3 separate regions of the Homo sapiens genome follow, and all the other regions are linked to region 2. Evidence: promoter capture Hi-C in human tissues and cell types (Jung and others, 2019). All regions are on one chromosome and are shown on one strand. Each heading gives the region's core, a stretch centred on a gene start or on the middle of the fragment in contact. The rest is flanking DNA. Distances are from core to core; before and after follow the strand shown.

What was found. The method cuts DNA at HindIII sites, captures the fragments that hold promoters and counts their contacts. A contact is called where the count stands out against the background at its distance.
Region 1: a fragment that was not itself captured here is called in contact with the fragment with the promoter of RHCG in region 2 in 2 of the 25 tissues and cell types used here (IMR-90 fibroblasts and aorta).
Region 3: a contact is called between a fragment that was not itself captured here and the fragment with the promoter of RHCG in region 2, in 1 of the 25 tissues and cell types used here (dorsolateral prefrontal cortex).

The regions. Positions count from the first base shown.
Region 1 is chr15:89,366,031-89,369,873 of GRCh38, forward strand. The region is part of intron 1 of MIR9-3HG (MIR9-3 host gene); the gene reads left to right. MIR9-3 (microRNA 9-3) reads left to right here and starts at 1,987; the gene lies at 1,987-2,076. RefSeq lists an enhancer at 1,594-2,207. The HindIII fragment of the contact is 9,312 bases long and covers 1-3,843 here.
Region 2 is chr15:89,494,328-89,498,180 of GRCh38, forward strand. RHCG (Rh family C glycoprotein) reads right to left here and starts at 2,256. Exons shown (of 11, transcript NM_016321.3): 1 at 2,034-2,256. The coding sequence starts at 2,217. The HindIII fragment of the contact is 31,959 bases long and covers 1-3,853 here.
Region 3 is chr15:89,342,606-89,346,641 of GRCh38, forward strand. No RefSeq gene overlaps it. Among named protein-coding and RNA genes, the nearest start is that of TRR-TCG1-1, 9.6 kb to the left of the region's middle. The HindIII fragment of the contact is 7,036 bases long and covers 1-4,036 here.

The sequences.
Region 1 (3,843 bases), core at 289-2,788, 130 kb before region 2:
GTGGCTGGCCTCTCTGTTCCTCTGCTGGTTCAGCTGTCCAGCCCTTGTTCACCTTCTGGAAAAAGGAATGTGTCTGCGAAGTGGGATTTCGAGGGAAACATGTACATAGCAGATTTGGTTGGTCACAAGCTGGCTGGGATGAGAGCAGGATGTCACCTGCTTCGGATTTAGAGATGGGATGAAATTAGAACAAACCACAGACAAGCAATGGGGAAAGAGGCATTTGACAAAATCCAGAACTTGACAAAATCCACATGTGTCATTTTTAGGGGAGTGTATGGAAGGAAGAGATTTTTAGTAAAATCATGAAATCTTTTCCAAACCATCCACTTTTGGCCCCTTCTTTCCAACCCATCCTGCAAGGGTTTTACCTGGCTCAGAGTGGCCCAGTGCCCCAGACCCCACTAAAATGAATCTGCACGGGTACCTCCACCTAACCCCACAGTGCTCACTGTAGACAGCAGCAGTGAGAGTCTCTGTGACTCCCGTGTATTGACTGCTGGAATCTGGGAATCCACTTGCCCAGTCCCACATAAAATCTCTCCCTAGCTGTTGAGCTTAAGATTTTTCTGGGGGTATCTAGGAGCAAAGATATTGCATTTTTCATACTGAATCCTTTGCATCTTGGGGATGGCTGACAGGCGGAGGTGAATCATAGGGCTCAAGGCTGGAGGGTAGCCACAGCAGCAAGGAAGAAGGGGGTGATGGCTGGCATGAGCACGAAGTGGTACCCATAGGCCACTCACATCTGGAAGGCTGCAATGGTACCACCAATTCAGCTGCCAGCTCAGTTTAGGGGTGATTCCGGGAGACCCAAGGTGGCAGTCCCTTTCCACTGTTGCGGCTACTTGGAGTGAGTAGCCAGGTGTGTGCTGAGAGCTGAAGAAGGAGAGTGGAGGCATGGCTTTGTGCTTTAATTTTTGGTGAAATATGAATTTAACCAGGAGCCAAGAGAGAGCCTAGGACTTCTCCAAGGTGCTTGGCACAATCGGTTTTACACTCCTAGTGTGTCTAGGAACCGAGAGAGAGAAGGGACCTAGCAGCTTGGTACTCAGGGCCCAGGCCAGGGCCTCGCCCAAGTGGAGCATAGCTGAGGAACCTCTGAGTGCCAGGTGTTATGGGTGGGACACCGACCTGCGCTCACCGGGACACTTAATTCTTCCTCCAATCCCTGGTCTCTGCCGCGTGGGCTAGATCTACTGCAAGTGCTGGGCATGGGGAAAGGAAGAGAGAAGTTAAAGGTGAAATGGCTTCTGCTCTCGGCCTCTCCGTGAGCGCTCTCGGCCCTCCTGTGGAGATCGCCACGTCCTATCACACGCGTCCCTAAACCTTGTCACTCGAGCATTCTTGTCTCCCAAACTCTGATGGTCCGCAGTGGGTACTGGGCTCCCTGGGCCCTGGGAGGAAGACGGAGGAGTTTGGGTGAAAGATCAGACGGTGCGCAGCCCTGAGGCTTCTGAGGGCAGAGGGTGCGCTTCCTTGCCCTCGGGGCGGGGAAGCCGTGAACGCCGAGGCCATTGTAAGGCTGGGTGGTGCGGAGCGCGGGAAGGGGGCTGGGATTTGAATGGGAGCCTGTGATTGGCCGATCCCTGGACTGACGTCACTTCCCCGCGGGGCGATTAGCCTGCGAGAGGAGGGCCGGCGGTCCAGTGCGCTGGGGGCGGCCGGGGCGCTCGAGGCTCTCTAAGCGCTCCGCGCGGGTGCCCTACGTGAGCCCCGGGACGCCGTCGAGGCAGGCCGGCAGCGCCGGTGCCAGGACGCACGGAACGGGGAGCAGGGGAGAAATGCGCCGGGAGGGCGAGGGAGGAAGGGAACTGGGCGGGGGCTGCGGGCCTAGGTGGCGGGAGTCAGCGTGTGCGTGTGTCTGTCCATCCCCTCTGGCTCTCCGCGTGCGCCCCAGGATCCGGGCACGGCGTCCGCTCAGGCTCCCGCGCTCGGCAGGCAGCAGCACGTGGAGCCCACGGCGCGGCAGCGGCACTGGCTAAGGGAGGCCCGTTTCTCTCTTTGGTTATCTAGCTGTATGAGTGCCACAGAGCCGTCATAAAGCTAGATAACCGAAAGTAGAAATGATTCTCACAACTTCTGCGTGCGAGCGCCCGCCCCACCGACCGCCCCGGCCCGGCCCGCAAGAGCCAGAGGAGCCGAGAGGAGCCCAGCGCCGGCCCAGCGGACTCCAGCTCGACGGAGCGGCCGCGCCCCGACCAGGTACCTGACCTCGGCTCTCTCTCTGGGGACACTTGCAGTGCCAGCTTTCCCCCAGTCCTCCTCTTTCCTGGTCCCCCACCCCTATCCCCCAGCGCCGGAGCAGGAACCCCAAAGTGGAGCGGGCCGGGGAGAGGGAGGGGGTTGGGGTTGCAGAGGGGTCGCTGGAAGGGGAAGGCGCCAGCCTTCGCCTTCACCCCATAAATCAGGCTGGAACAATCCGCTCCCGGAGCCGTGGACGGGGATTTTGGGATGCAAATGCGATGGGAGAGAGACAGCGGTCGGTAGGGGGTGGGTGGAGGGAGTGAATGGGGTGGGCTGGGGGCTGCCCTGCCGCTAACAATGCGGCCTTTATCGAATTATTCGACGAGTCAGCCCCTGAGCGCCATTAGCATACGGCTGGGGGGTTGCCGGAGCTTCGCCCCTCGGTGAGGTCAAGTTCTTGATAATTTGATCACTTTTCACGGGCTCTGGCAGCTGCCTTTGTGTGCAGTTGGGGGGTCTGTGTGCAGCGTGAAGCGGAGCAGAACTGGCGGGGAGTGCGCTCAATGGCAAGGGGCCAGGGCAGGGGCCTCCCTCCCCGACGGGTCGGCCCTGCCCTGCATACAAACCAAGAGCCGGCGGGTGGGCGGGAGGAACCGAGCTCAGTCTCCCGCTACCTCTACGCCAGCCCCGACCGGGCTGCTCCTGCCCAAGCCTCCCCAACTTCCCGCGAGGTTAAGGTGCAGGCAAGCTCCCAGAGCTCCCCCTCCTCCCTGCCCCAAGAAGTCACGACATAAGATGTATTACAATGTCTAGCAAATAAAAAAGCAATTGGGGGAAATCTGAATTCGTTCCCATGGCAACCCAATGCAGCACACCCGGCCACTCAGGCTCCCAGCCCCTCTTAACTGGGCTCAGGGAGTGGGGCTTGCCCCTGCTCAGTGCGTGGGGGTCCCGGCCCCACACAGTGCTAGGGTCCCTCTCGAGTTTCTCATCTGCCTTCAGGTCACTTTCCACCCTGATGCCTTGGCTTGTCCTGAAGCTCAGGGCCCCTGTAGCTTGGGAAACCTCCCAAGCTCCCCAGCGAGTGGCTGTAGACCAAGGAAGGGACCCTGCCCGGCTTCAGGGAAGAAAGGAAGAAAGGTAGGCTCAGACTCCCCGATTGGTAGGGGGGCTTTCTAAGTATATGGGTATGTGAGTGCTATGATAGACAGGCTGAAAGGAACTGGCACCACCACCCAGCCCTGACCCCCATCCCCTCACCCTTTTACATGAGAGGAAACAGATCTGGGGATCTGAAGTGACTCCCTAAGGGTCACACAGCTCAGAAGGCAGAGCTGGACCCCAGGCCACCTTACGTACATCTTGGCTCACTTCACTCCCTGGAGCCTCTCCCTTAGTGATTTTCACGGCCCCTCTTCTCCCAGCCTTTGCCCAGCCCTCTTGTAAAAATAGAAATATTTTTTCCATCTTCACTCCTGCAAACCTTTTTTGTTCTTTGCCTAACAAAATTATTTTGAATATAGGGTATATATGTAAATGGTGAAAATTCAAACAGTACAAAAGGAAAACCCCTTGGCTCTGGGGAGGAGAACTGTGTGGCTGAGGTGGATGGTAGAGGGAGACTTTTCACTGTATACCTTTGGAATTGTGAACCCT
Region 2 (3,853 bases), core at 1,006-3,505:
AACTTATTTATCCAGAGTGACCATAGCCCTGATTTGCCAGGACAGTCATGGCTTATCCATGGGTCCCAGCAAATTACTACCAGCACCACCTTCACTCTCAGAGGTGTCCTCTGATGATGATAAATTGTATGATCACACTACAGATAAGCACTTGTTGCATGAACACATTAACCTGGGGTGTGAAAGGTGGGTGGGCAAGTGTGGTGCGAGGAGGATAAGAGCTGGGGAGATGTAAGGACTGTACCTCCCCACTGGTGAGGTTCTGCAGCTCCTATTATAGGGTCTCTCTCTCTCTCTCTCATTTCTTTCTTTTTTTTTTTTTTGAAAGGGAGAGAGATAGAGATTCACTCTGTCACCTAGGCTGGAGTGCAGTGGTGCTGTCATAGCTCACTGTAGCTTCAAACTCCCAAGCTCAAGCGATCCTCCCACCTCAGCCTCCCAAAGTATGCTGGGATTACAGGTGTGAGCCATCGCACCCAGCCTATTTAAGGTCTTGAGGTCCTCCACTCCCCAGACACATTGAGGACCTGTGAACGCCCATGGGAGTTCTTGCCCCTTATGCTCTGGGGTCAAGTGGGAAGCAAGTGCGGGAGGGAGGGAGAAGAACAGGTAAAGGAGGGTCTCAAGCTTGCCTGCCTCACTGTTTGCTGGAAAGTCCCCCCCTTGAGGAGAGGAAAGGTGGACAATGTGAACAGTGGATTTGGAGCCTGAATCCCAAGGCTGCAGCTGTCTAAGATATCTTTTAAAAAACAGCCCTAAATGGAGCCCAGGAGAAACTGTGGTCTCCCCAGCAGGGGGCGCACCCCTTATCTGTTACTTCCCTTCTAGGCACCAAGTAACTATTAAATGCAGCCCATGATAGCCCTAACTTTTTGGCAGCCACTTAATATGGCTGGCTCCCACCAAGCCTGCAGCCCCCCAAACGCAGTCTTTTTTCATGCAGGCTGCCATTCTGAAAGTGTGCAGTTGTTTTCTTGGAGATAGAGAATCCCCTGTTGCCGAGAATGTCTAAGGTGTGGAGGGAATACCAGTTGATATAGGCGGCTGCTGGAGAGGGGCTTTAGGGTCCCTTTCAAAGCTAACAGTCAATGACTACATGAACACCACCGGCTAGAATAATTTTCATTGGCTGATGGCGGATGGAGTGGAAAATCAGAAAGTACAAGGGCATTCTGATTTTGGGAAGAGCCCCAGGCTGGGAGTCCAGAGGTCGGGCAGCTCAGAGTGACCTTGGGCTAGCTCTCCCTGCTCCTGAGTCCTAGGGCACCTGTGTTTGGTGCTCTTGTAGCAATTGCTCCATTATGAAGAAAGGATCCCACCCCAACTCTGCCAGAGCTTTACATGCACTTCCTCGCCACAGCCTCACCCCAACCCCTGTGAAGGAGGTCCTACCATTATCTTCATTCTGTAGATGAGGAAATTGAGGTTTAGGAAGGTTGGCATTTGCCTGAGGCCAGCCACCTGGTTTGTGGCAAGAGCCACGAGAGCATGAGAGAAAGGGAGGTGTGTGATTGTAGGGTCATGCTCTTAACCACAGCACCGCTGACACCAGAAGATTCAGGGGCGCTTGTTTTCCCTCTCCAAGCTAAAAGGGGGTGGGTGTCCTGGCCTCCTGGCCCACCAGTGGTCCCACAACACCTCTGCCCACAGCAGGGCTGGCGCTTATTTGGAGTAAGCGCTCCTCTGGACAAGGGAGCCAGGTCATCCACTGGTTGGTAATGGGGCGAGAGGACTCGGATCTTCTTAGTATACCAAGCAGGGCTCTCTGACAGGGATGTTGGGGGGCTCTGACGGCTGGGAGGGCGGTCAAATAAAAACCTCATCCCGGTGTTTTCCCTACTAGTTTTTCACGGGGAAAAGGAGTTTGTGCACATCTGACAATTTCCCACGCATGCCCTGCAGAGGCCGGCGAGATGCGGAGTCCGCGGCTGCAGGGTAGATCCCCTCCTCTGCCCAGCTCTGGGCCGAGCCCTTGGCCAGGTGGGGACCGGCGCGGATATGCCTCCGCTGGGCCTGCAGGCGGCGAGACTTACTTGGGTAGCGATAGTAGAATTCGTTCTCCATGTCGCTCAAGTTCTTGTGCGTCCTCTCTGACCACCAGTGGGCGTCGGCCTCGAAGTCGTAGCGCACGAACACCCCGAAGAGAATCACCATAATCACCTGCAGGAGCAGGCAGGTGAGCGGCAGCCGCCAGCGGAGGTTGGTGTTCCAGGCCATGCTGCAGGGGTGCCTGGCCGGGCTGGCAGCGGGCGGTTCGGACGCTCGGAGGCCGGCGGGGCTTTTGAGACCCGGGCAGGGGGGCGGGGCGGCCACGTGGGGCACGGAGCAGCTGACTCGGGCACCGCCCGCGCGCTCGCCCAACTGGCAGGGGCCCAACCCAAGCCGAGGGCCCCAAAAGATTCCCCGCGTCGGGCTGGGGGACAGCGGCAGGAGCAGAGGCTAAGGCAGTGGGCAGGAGGATCAGGGTGCCCCAAATTCTGTGTGTCCCGTTGATACTGGGGCCTTTCTCCTTTTGTTCTGCTGAACAGAGAAACACGGGGATCATTGGCCTCCCAGTGAGATCAGAAGGAATTCCCAGACCTAAGTCATCATCATCAACATCATCATCATCTGCCATCATCATCTGCATCATCATCTGTCCTTTCTTTTTCTGATTATGAAATTCATACAGGGCACATGAGAAACAAGGAATGTTTGGGACACTGTCACACAACAGAGCGGCCTGGGGAGACATCTGTGATGTGCTACCCCAGACTTGACCCTGGAACAGAAAAAGGATGTTAATTGGAAAACTGGTAAAATCCAAATAAAGCCTGAAAATTAGTTAATAGTGACGTTCCCATGTTGTTTTCTTAGTTGGGACAAATGTCATGGTTATGTAAAATGTTAACAGTAGGATAAACTGAGTAAGGGCTATATGGGGACTGTCTTTGCCACTTTTCTGTAAATCTAAAATTATTCCAAAATACAAGGGTTTTAAGAAAAAAAACACGTATAAAGGATTGTAAGAACAATTTAAGAGTTTTTCACAAGTTCATTGGTCCATAGTCAGGAACTGTCTTCTGGTTAAGATCTGTGATCTTGACATGAGTTAACCATAATATTTAGGTCTGGGAATTCCTTCTGATCTCACTGGGAGGCCAATGATCCCCATGTTTCTCTGTTCAGCAGTATAACAGTCTGTATATTGTCTGCTTAGTCTGTATATTGTCAAAATAAATTTGATTTTCTAATTTTTCTTTAAAAATACAGAGATAATTGTAGAGATTTGGAAAATACAGAAAAACACAAAGAAGAAAGTAAAAATCACTCATAATCCCACCACCCAGAGGCAATACTAATATTTTGGTGTATGTACTCTAGTCTTTTCCTAGCTCATTGAAGAGGGGCTGGAGGGGAGCAGGGGGAGTGTTTCAAACGATCATACTAATTTATAGCGTTTTTAACTCCTTTCATATTTTGTAAACACCTTCCCATATTATACTTCTACAACTTTTTTTCTTTTTCTTTTTCTTTTTTATTTATTTATTTTTTTGAGATAGGGTCTTGCTCTGATGCCCAGGCTGGAGGGCAGTGGCTTGATCATGGTTCACTGCTGCCTTGACCTCCTGGGCTCAAGTGATCCTCCCACTTCAGCCTCCCAATTAGCTGAAACCACAGGCATGTGCCACCAGGCCCACCTAATTTTTTTTTTTTTTTTTTTTTTTTTTTTGAGACAGGTCTCGCTCTGTTGCCCAGGCTGGAGTGCAGTGGGGTGATCTCGGCTCACTGCAAGCTCCGCCTCCCGGGTTCACACCATTCTCTGGCCTCAGCCTCCTGAGTAGCTGGGACTATAGGCGTGCGCCACCGCGCC
Region 3 (4,036 bases), core at 1,350-3,849, 150 kb before region 2:
GACCTCATGATCCACCCGGCTCGGCCTCCCAAAGTGCTGGGATTACAGGCATGAGCCACCGCGTCCAGCGTGGTTACCGCTTTTTTAAAAAATAATAATCACATCATCTTTTAATATATTTTCCTTTTTAAAAATAGAGATGAAGTCTCACTATGTTGCCCAGGCTGGTCCCAAACTCCTGAGCTCAAGTGATTCTCCTGCCTCAGCCTCCCAAAGTGCTGGGATTACAGGTGTGAGCCACCGCTCCCAGCCCTGGCTACCCTTGAAAACTTCCTGCAAACCACTGTCAACCTCTGACCCTGCTCTCAGGAGTCTAGGGGCCACAGGCAAGAGGGGCTGAATGCTAGCAGCTGGGGCCTAAACTGCCTCAGCTCGGGGACCAGCAGCATCTTGCAAAGCAGAGGGCCTGGGCTGGTGGGAAACTGCTGATGAAGCCTGTTGGCCCCAGACAAGGGGTGCGTCTGGTGTGTGTGGCCCTGGGCTAGGCAGGTAGCCCCAGGAATCCACAGGAAGAGAAGATGGGGATCAGCTGCCCCTCCATGGGTTTGCAGAAAGACTCAGTGGCTCCCAAATGTCAACAAAGGCCACTGAGGTATGACCAGTGCCCAAGAGGCAGGGACAAGGACAGACAACCTGCTGAGGACTGTGTCCCATTGCAAGAATCAGAGAGCAAAGGTGGCTGCCCTGACACACCAACACGGGGCTCCTTACCCTTCACTCTGGAGGTTGGTGGGGTCTGGCTGTCCTGGCTCATCCTTACCTGGGCTCCTGAGTGGGCCATCTTTACCTGGCAGAGCCCAGACTCCATGACCCCTTCAAGACTGTCTAGCCTCCTGCCAGCCCTGGGTCTGATGGGCCATGAAGAGGCCTGTGGATGGCGGAGGCCATGGTCAGGCTGGAGCCCCCATATCTGAACCTAAGCTCCACCAGGTGGGGGCAGAGAGGGAAGGCATGGTGGAAGCTGTCAACGCACTTCCAGCCCCAGTCAGGAACAGCACGGAGGGTCACCGGGGCACCCTGCTTTGCTCAGATGGGAAGATAAGGCTGGGGAGGGGAGGCCGGACCCACCAAGGGGCAGGCGCCCCCAGGGCGAGATCCAAGCAGCAAACTCTGGCTCTTCATCACCTCCATGGCCTCACCTCCACCCTGAAACTCTTGAGGGGAGCTCCAAAGTCTCCATCCCTTCCTAGAAACACAAGAAACTGACACCATTGATGCCTCCAGGTGGCGGGACATGGTAAGGGGGAGACTCTGACTTAAATCCTGTTGTGGCTTTCCAGTTTTGAATTGTGAACTTGTTACCTGTTCAAAAAGAATACATTATTTTTATATAATATATATATTTTAAATAGCATATTAAACTAAAACTTTTAAAAAAAGGAAAGGGGCAGTGCAGTGGGATCACACTCGTAATTCCAGCACTTTGGGAGGCTGAGTCAGGAGAATAATTTGAGGCCAAGAGTTTGAGACTAGCCTGGGAAACAGAATGAGACCCCCATTTCTACAAAATATAAAAAAATTAGCCAGGTGTGGTGGCATGCGCCTGTAGTCCCAGCTACTTGGGAGGCTGAGGTGGGAGAATTGCTTGAGCCCAGGAGGTTGAGGCTGCAGTGAGCTATGATTGCACCATAGCTGGACTACACTCCAGCCTGGGCAGCAGAGCAAGACCCTGTCTCAAGGGAAAAAAGAAAAGAACAGAAAAGCTTTAATCATCTCCCCCTCTCATTGCTCCCCCTCCACCCAGGAAAGCCAGGTAGAATCTCTTCACTCTTTTCTCCATGTTCCAACAAACATCAAAACACACAAACAGAAGACTTTTTTTTTTTTTTTAATTGAGCCGAAGTCTTGCTCTGTCACCCAGGCTGGAGGGAAGTGGCATGATCTTTGCTCACTGCAACCTCCACCTCCCAGGTTCAAGGGATTCTCGTGACTCAGCCTCCCAAGTAGCTAGGACTACAGGCGTGTGCCATCACACCCAGCTAATTTTTGTATTTTTAGTAGAGATGGGGTTTCACCATGTTGGCTAGGCTGGTCTCAAACTCCTGACCTCAAGTGATCCTCCTGCCTTGGCCTCCCAAAGTGCTGAGATTATGGGCATGAGCCACTGCACCTGACCCAGAGGCCTTTTTAAAAAACTTTATTTATTTACTTATTTCAAATATGGGATCATCCAATACCCAGTATTCTGTAACTGAAAGCTATCATTCAGCTGAATATCATGGACATCCCTGACTGATGAATAAACAGTCAGTTCTCATTATTGGCTGTAGTTATGGTCTATAAAGTCACCATGACCATTGAATGAGCAAATATGGAAGCATCGTTCCTAGAGGAAATACACATTTAGGTTCCTGTGAGCCTCTGCTCACAACATTTCAATCAAATGATCACTACATAACCTTGTGTTATGTGTGTTTCCATTTAAAGGCACCTTATTTACTACATACTGTTGATTCATTAACATTGAACTCACAGCCAACAGTGCTATAACTCATGCCTGATTGAAGCTAATCTAACATACGTATTTTATCTGTAAGGCACATCACAGCCTACTTGTGCTTGGGAACAGTAGAGAGCACTTCAGCACTGAGCTGGGAGGCCGTGTTACACAGCAAAACCACCAACAAAAAACACAAATATGTGAAAAGCGTGATCTGGAATAGACTGCAGAAAGAACATTTGTTTACAGCACAAGAGCTGAGACAAGAAGACAGAGCGTCCCCTTGTTCAACCTCACAAATGGCCACTCTGCAAATGCCCTCCAATGACTGAAAACGCCATGATTATGGATTTAGGGATTACAAATAAATATTAGAGAGTAGGCAAATTCACAAATGCTGAATCATGAGAATCAGCTGTATATAGATTTAAATGTATTTTCTAAAATTTCCACATTTAATCTTTTGGTGGGAAGGATTTTTTGCTTTTTTTGGTAAACAGACAAAAAAAAATGGTCACTAAAAAAGGCGGCTGGGCATGGTGGCTCATGCCTGTGATCCCAGCACTTTGGGAGGTCAAGGTGGGCAGATCATGAGGTCAGGAGATCGAGGCCATCCTGGCCAACACGGTGAAACCCTGTCTCTAATAAAAATACAAAAACATTAGCTGGGCATGGTGGTGCATACCTGTAGTCCCAGCTACTCGGGAGGCTGAGGCAGGAGAATCACTTGAACACGGGAGGCGGAGGTTGCAGTGAGCCAAGATCGTGCCGTTCCACTCCAACCTGGGTGACAGAGGGAGACTCCATCTCAAAAAAAAAAAAAAAAAAAAAAAGGTGGGAATTGGAGGTGGCAATTGGACTGTTACCTCCTCTGTTAACTGTTATCTGCCACCCTGGTCCCTGGGACAGAGTTAAAGTGGCAGCAACCTGGCTGGCCCCAGCCCTTGACATGAGTCTGGCCCAGGGTGGAAGAGGGCACAACTCTTCCTAAAGGCACACGAAAGTCTGATGACTGGTAGATAGTAAGCTGGACAGTGTCTTCAGGCTTCCCCACTTGAGGGCCCCTCTGACTGCGAGGGAAGCAACGGAGGCATTTTATCCCTGTTTTACAGATGAGGGAATGGGGTTCTTGAAGCCCTCTGCTTGAGGCCACATGGCGGTAGATGTGGCTGAGAGCCCTGCCCTTGAGCCTTTTGGCTTGAGGCTTCATGCCAGCATCCACGGAGGCACAGCTTCAGGGTCCCTGGTGGCCCAGCCACTGGGCAAGAGAGGATGCTCTTTTCCATCCCTGGGTCTGGCTAGAGGCCCTGGAGGGAGTCAGGGTCCTTGCCAAAGAGCAGCAGAGCCTGCCGTGAAGTGAAGGCTTCTGAAAGAAATGAGTCTGAATCCTGGCTCCACCTGTCCAAACTGTGTGACCTTAAGCAAATTACAAGGGAGCTTGCTGTGCCTCAGCATCCTTGTCTCTATAATGGGAAGGTGATAGCCTCATAGGGGGCTTGTGAGGTTTTGCTGCAGTGACACATGCAGATTCTCTCCTCAGCAGAGGCTTTGGTTTTGTGCCTGCTTCCCTGCCCCTCCCCGAGCTGGCCAGCCCAG